Regions from separate parts of the Homo sapiens genome. Here region 1 is linked to region 2. The links are contacts of gene promoters, found by promoter capture Hi-C in blood cells and fetal thymus (Javierre and others, 2016). All regions are on one chromosome and are shown on one strand. The core of a region is centred on a gene start or on the middle of the fragment in contact, and the rest is flanking DNA. Distances in the headings are between cores, read along the strand shown. Region 1 has its middle 10 kb from the start of SUB1. Region 2 holds the start of GOLPH3 (golgi phosphoprotein 3).

Evidence for each region. Contacts are between HindIII fragments. The CHiCAGO score rates a contact against its expected background, and 5 or more counts as called.
Region 1: a contact is called between a fragment that was not itself captured here and the fragment with the promoter of GOLPH3 in region 2, in 2 of 17 cell types (naive CD8 T cells and total CD8 T cells). The highest score is 5.5, in naive CD8 T cells.

What each region holds. Positions count from the first base shown.
Region 1 is chr5:32,573,695-32,577,248 of GRCh38, forward strand. No RefSeq gene overlaps it. Among named protein-coding and RNA genes, the nearest start is that of SUB1, 10 kb to the right of the region's middle. RefSeq lists a silencer at 2,832-3,002. The HindIII fragment of the contact is 413 bases long and covers 1,232-1,644 here.
Region 2 is chr5:32,172,287-32,175,663 of GRCh38, forward strand. It overlaps GOLPH3 (golgi phosphoprotein 3), which reads right to left and starts at 2,033. Exons shown (of 4, transcript NM_022130.4): 1 at 1,524-2,033. The coding sequence starts at 1,748. RefSeq lists a silencer at 1,317-1,926. The HindIII fragment of the contact is 5,568 bases long and covers 1,040-3,377 here.

The sequences.
Region 1 (3,554 bases), core at 188-2,687, 400 kb after region 2:
TAGTTGGGACTACAAGCACATGCCACCATGGCCGGCTAATTTTTCTATTTTTTGTAGAGATGGGGGTTTCACTTTGTTGCTCAGGCTGGTCTCAAACTCCTGGGCTCAAGTGATCCACTCTCCTCTGCCTCCCAAAGTGCTGGGATTACAGGCATGAGCCACCATTCCCAGCCCTATTTCCATTATTTTAACTTCTAATGCCTGAAAATGAATAGATACAAGAAGAAACATTTAAATGGAGATGTAACTAATCCAATGGCAAAACATTAAAAAAAAATTAAAATAAAACTTACTGACCAAAGAAAGAAAGAAAAGTAGAAATTAAAATGTTTCACTATTGGGTTCAATGTACATTATTCAGGTGACAGGTACACTAAAAGCTCAGACTTCACCACTATACAATTCATCTGTGTAGCCAAAAACCACTGAACCCTTACAGCTATTGAATTTTTTTTTTTTTTGAGACGGAGACTTGCTCTGTTGCCTAGGCTGGAGTGTAGTAGTGCGATCTCAACTCACTGCAACCTCTGCCTCCCGGATTCAAGCAATTCTCCTGCCTCAGCCTCCCAAGTAGCTGGGATTACAGGCACACACCACCATGCCCGGCTAATTTTTATATTTTTTTAGTGGAGATGGGGTTTCACTATGTTGGGCAGGCTGGTCTGGAACTCCTGATCTTGTGATCCACCCACCTCGGCCTCCCAAAGTGCTGGGATTACAGGCATGAGCCACTGCGCCTGTCCAAAAAGTTTTTTAAAAAGGTCTGGGGTGGGCCAGCCAACTGGTTACACAGTTGTCTGGGATCCCATGGAATATTTAACCTGACCTCTGATGGGAACAGGAAACTGAGACCCAGGGAGGTAAAATGACTTGCCCTTGCCCTGTTATGGTCAATATCACTGTAGGTCTCTGGACCCAGCTCTTTAGCAACCTTTCCATGCCTCTATGCAGCTCCCCATGTATCAGTTCTCTGAGAGAATGCAGCTTGGGCATCTGTAACTCTTAGGTTGAATTCAGGCAGTTTACCACTTCTCCTTGGCTCATAATGTCTAGGACAGCCTTGAATAGGTTCAGAAATCATGTGGCAACAAAATCCCCCCTTGATATCATGGTATATGGGTTATGTTTGGTATTTGCAAAGCAAACAACTGGGATCAAATTCCAGCACTGCTACTTAGCCGCTGTGTGACACTGGTATCTTTGTGTCCTAAGACTGTAATAAATTGTCACAAGCTTCGTAGTTTAAATCAACAGAAATTTGGCCAGGCATGGTGGCTCATGCCTGTAATTCCAGCACTTTGGGAGGCTGAGGTAGGTGGATCACTTGAGGTCAGGAGTTTGAGACCAGCCTGGCCAACATGGTAAAACCCTGTCTCTACTAAAAATGCAAAAATTAGCCAAGTGTGGTGGCAGACGCCTGTAATCCCAGCTACTTGTGAGGCTGACAGGAGAACTGACTGCTTGAACCTAGGAGGCAGAGATTGCAGTGAGGCGAGATCATGCCACTGAACTCCAGCCTGGGCGACTAGAACAAGATTCTGTCTCAAAAAATCAATCAATCAATCAACAGAAATTTATTATCTTAAAGTTCTGGAGGGTAGAAGTCGAAAATCAAGGCAACGGGAGGGCCATGCTCCTCCTGAAAGCTTTAGGGAAGAGTCCTCCCTTGCCTCTGCCTAGTTTCTGGTGCCTGCCCGCAATCCTTGGTGTTCCTCGGCTTGTAAGATGCATCCAAGTGTCTTTCTGCTTTCTCTGGTAAAGACACAGGTCACTGTATTTGAAGCCCATCCTAATTTAGTATGACTTTGTCATAATGTGATTACATCTGCAAAGACCCTATTTTCAAATGTAGTCACAATCACAGGTACTGGGGTTAGGACTTGGGTAGATTTTTTGAGGGGGGTTACAATTCAACCAACTAACTCAGGTAACTCCCTTCACCAATCTGAGTACAGTTTCTTCCTTTCTATAATGGAATAAAACACCTCTCTCCCAGGCTTAATGTGAATACAATGAGATGACATGCATAAGTGCCCGGAATATAGGAGGTGCTCTGAAGATGCTGCCAACTCCCCCTTGGATTTCTTTGTTCCTAAAGTCAAGCTCAGTGATCGCACATAGTAGATAAGTTTGGCAGTTGATTGATTTTCTAAATCAGAAGTGTAAATGCCCAGTGGACTTTGCACCAAAGGACCCAGAGATCTGGCTATGCATTCTCTAAGTGTCTTTTCACAAGGCAAGACTCTCCCAGTCCCTCTTGGAGAATCACTTTTGAGACACATTTACTAGTTCTACCTGCTTTCTCCTTAAATCACCATGGATAGCAGCATCCTTTCTGCACATCTCGGGTTCTGCTTGGATTTAGCATTAACTCCTTGATAACATGTTATGAGGACAAAATCTCTGCTTTCTGTGTGGAATTGACACAAAGATATTTACACTATTGAATTAAGGCTTCTAATTTGGCTTTATAGGTGAGCTCCTAGTCAGAATACTGAAGAATTAATAAAAATTACATAAATGACCTAAAGAAATGTGAATTCATATAGATTGTTTAAAATGGGCAAGTTTTATTAGAAAACTATCCTATTTAACAGCATCCCTGGTAAATAAGAAAACAAACAAACAAAAATGGCTGGGCGCAGTGGCTCACGCCTGTAATCCCAGCACTTTGGGAGGCCAAGGCGGGCAGATCACCTGAGGTCAGGAGTTCGAGACCAGCCTGGCCAACATGGTGAAACCCCATCTCTACTAAAAATACAAAAAAAAAAAAAAAATTAGCCAGGCGTGGTGGCAGGTGCCTGTAATCCCAGGTACTTGGGAGGCTGAGGCAGGAGAATCACTTGAACTGGGGAGGCAGAGGTTGCAGTGAGCCAAGATCACACTGCTGCATGCACTCCAGCATGGGCGACAGAGAAAGACTCAGACTAAAAAAGAAAAACAAAACAAAACAAAAAACCACCAACCAACCAACCAAACCAAAGCAAACAAAACAAAAAATAGAAGACAGAAAAAAGAAAACTATCCTCCAGAGTAACAGTTCGAATTCATAGAGGAAATATCTCATTTGAAAAAAAAGCTCCAGGTCTTTAGAGAAAATAAATTACTAACCTGATAACATATTTCAGCAGAATCTAATGTGGTAGATGTCTCTAGAAGTTTCTTTAAAGGAAAATTTAGAGCAAGGGCTAAAACAAGAAAGAGCAGAAAACTAAACCAGCAGGGCATAAGAAAGCAGAATTGTTGAGGAATTTGCTTAACAATTATAACAGTTGAAGTTCTTTTAGCGAATAAATTAAAAACTCGTTGGAGAGAAATTATTTACCGATTTCTTTACCTTGCTACTTTCTTCTGTGTGTAGATCCCAGTTTTTCTTGTTGGATGCTATGTCCCGGATGGACTTAGTCAGATATACTTCTGCAAGAGTTTCCATTTTCAGTATTGTCCTATTCAGGGATATAAAGTCAACTATGTCCTAGGTTCTGCCATGATAGAATACACTATTTAACTATTGAAGTCTAGGGCTTGATAATCTAGCAGAAGTCACCGAGGAA
Region 2 (3,377 bases), core at 783-3,282:
AAACGGTCCATATAAAACTCGCCTATATCTAGTAAGTTTCAGTGACCAAGAAAGATTACGTTGTTTTGTAAGACTTTTTTTTTTTTTTTGCCCACCTTCCTGAATTTGGAAAACTTTCTTAAAATCAGGCCTGGGCGCGGTGGCTCAAGCTTGTAATTTCAGCACTTTGGGAGGCCGAGGCAGGCGGATCACTAGGTCAAGAGATCGAGACCATCCTGGCCAACATGGTGAAACCCCGTCTCTACTAAAGGTATGAAAATTAGCTGGGCATGGCGGCGCACGTCTGTAGTCCCGGCTACTCGGGAGGCTGAGGCAGGAAAATCGCTTGAACCCGGGAGGCGGAGTTTGCAGTGAGTGGAGATCGCGCCACTGCACTCCAGCCTGGGCGACAAACTGAGGCTCCGTCTCAAAAACAAAACAAAACAAAAACACAAAATTAGCCGGGCATGGTGGCGCATGCCTGCCTCAGGAGGCTGAGGCAGGAGAATCGCTTGAACCCGGGAGGCGGAGATTTCGGTAAGCCGAGATCGCGGCATTGCACTCCAGCCTGGGCAACAAGAGCGAAACTCCGTCTCCACATAAATAAATAATCATTTTTGTAGGCAAATATAACAAATACAGCAAAACGTCATAGAATCTAGAAAGAGTATATATGCATATGTATCTATCACTTTTTCAACTTTTCTGTGTGTGAAAATTTTGGACACTGAAGTGAAAATAAACGCTTTCAAAGTCAGAATACAAAGAATTATCTATTGCAACTTCAACCCACCTGAAGCTTTGAGGCCTCTGATCAACTCACAAACCTACATTTCAAGCACTCGATGAAAAAGCCCTTTCTTAAGACGGCAAGACTTTGAGATTCATCAACTGATAAAATATAAAAGCGATACTAAAAATAATCTCTCACCTAATGTAAGTTCACCTAGAAAGTCATTTACCAGGAGGTTTCATGAGAAACTTAACTTAACTTTACTCAGTAAAAGAGCTTTTCCCTCTATTACCACTTCGCCTACGTTTTTCGTAATTCCCAACAGTAAGCTTTAACTGAAGAAGAAGAAAAAAAAAACATCCCCAGCAAGCAGATCCGGGCACCCCTCCCAGGTCCTAAAGCCTGCAAAAACCCAAAGAGTTCGTGGCGCTGGTGGCTCCAGCTGTTAGTTTCCCGGGCAGTCTCCGGGTTGGATTTGCACCCTGGGGTCTACACGGGTTAAAAACGCGGAAAAAAGGCGACGAAGAAATACAAACTGCCAGGGTGTCGAAATGAAAGGAGCGACTGTGAAAGGGGTAAGGAAAAATCCAAGCCATCTCTACGGGGAGGATCCAGAAAGCACCAGCCGCGCCAGGGGGTCAACCAACTCCGACACCGCTCGGCGTCAGCTGGGCGCCACCAGGCGCGGACTTCGGAGCGAGGGCAGGTGCGCGGGCCGGAAGCCTCGGGCGCTCACCTGGCACCTACCTGGAGCTCACCTGGCGCCCGGGCCCCGCGCCGCCGCCCCCCGCCCAGCCCGCCGCGCCCGCACCTCGCGGTCCTTGAGGCCCAGCAGGAGCACTTCCTCCATCAGGGTCAGCCGCGTTTCCTTGGAGTCGCCCTTGTCGTCGTCGTCCTGCTCGTCGCGGCGGCTCTGCGCGTCGTCCTCGCTGCTGCCGGCGCCGCCGCCCGCCGCCCGCTCCTTGTCGGCGGCGTTGCGGGAGGCCTCGGTGCGCCGCTGCACCAGGCCGGAGCTGCGCTGGGTCAGCGAGGTCATGGCTCCCGCCGAGGCGCCGAGCCGGGCCGAGAGGGTCGCAGGACCGACCGGGTCGCCCTCCTCCTCCCCGCGCGGCCTCCGATCCGGGTTTCCGTGTTAAATCCGGACGCCGGGGCGACGTCCGTCGGCAGCAGGGCCGGGGGCAGTCATGAGGAAACAGGTCAGGGCGAAGCGGGCTGGCCGGGCGTCGGCGGGGCAGGAGAGGAGCGCCTTCCTGCCTGTGGCCGCAGTCCCCGAAACACCCCGAGCTCCAAGGCGGAGGCGGCGGCGGCGCCTTTCCAATATGGCGGCCCCGGCTGACGTCACCGGAGGATGTGGCAGAGTCGGCGCGGGAGAGCTGGGCCGGGAGGCGCCGGAAGCGGCGGCCGGGGATCCGCTGCCACTGCAGCCTACACCCTTCCCGGCCCTCGGTGCTTGTCTTTTCTTTGGCGTTCCTGCGCCCCCTGACCCGCGGTCCTGCAGTCCTGCTCCCGTGACGTGCCCTCCCTCCTTCCGTTCCCCGTTTCCCCTTCACTACCCAGGGCTGGAGCCTGAACCTGGCGGGGCCCCCCGTGAATGGAAGAGCCTGGGCCACGCGAAGGTGGACCCCACTCAGCCTCCAGCCGTGCCCTCCACGCCCCAGACACCGCCGTCTTCGGAGGCGACTCCGCGGTCGTGTGGACGGGGTCCCATTTGGACTCCGGGGTCTGCAGGATCGGCAGGAAGGACTTTGCTCTCTGCTGCTGGGCGGGGAGGGGTACGCTATCTGCCGGGACTCCCTAACCCTTTAGAAGGAGCAAGTGCGTCCAAATGGTTTGAAAGTGGACCTTTATTGTTTTCCAGGAGTAAGAAGATAGAACAGTTGACCAGTTTTGTTTGTAAAACTTCTTTCCTTGCCTCGGACTTGTGCTATAAAGTGACCAGGGCGTAGTGAGTACAGTTAGTACCGCACACGTTAGCACGCTCGACCTTAACGATCTTTTTATAGAGACAATAAACCTGCAGCGTTTCATGCCACGTCTTTGTACGCATCGGATGTCTCTCCGTGTAGTTACTAGGTGAAATCCTCTTGGCGTGCGCAAATTAGGTTAAAAAAATAGCTGTCAAACCTGAGACAGGAGTTGGAGGAGTAGAGGGTGGCGCTTGTTAAGTGAAACATTTAACCAGGAATGGTATTGTGTGCCATCCTGTATTAAACAATGTATGGACAGAGTGGAACAACAGCAAAGCAAAAAATAAAAATTTTTTAAAAAAAGTGATCATGGGCTGTGGCTAAAGAGTGCTTTAGATGGATTCTTCTCTTCCACAAATCCATTATCCAGAACTGCTGCTGCCTACCATCCCATGCCCTGGAAAGTGACAGTGCTAAATGAAGGGAAGAGAGGGTCCAGGGGGCACACCAAGTAGACCTTCCCTTTTTCCCACCTGTCTTGGTGAAGGTCGATTTCACCTCAACCAATTTCTCCCATTCACACCCTCTTTTTTTTTTTTTTTTTTTTTTTTTTGAGACGGAGTCTTGCTCTGTTGCCCAGGCTGGGGTGCAGTGGCACAATCTCGGCTCACTGCAAGCTCTGCCTCCCGGGTTCACGCCATTCTCCTGCCTCAGCCTCCTGAGTAGCTGGACTACAGGCGCCCGCCACCACGCCTGGC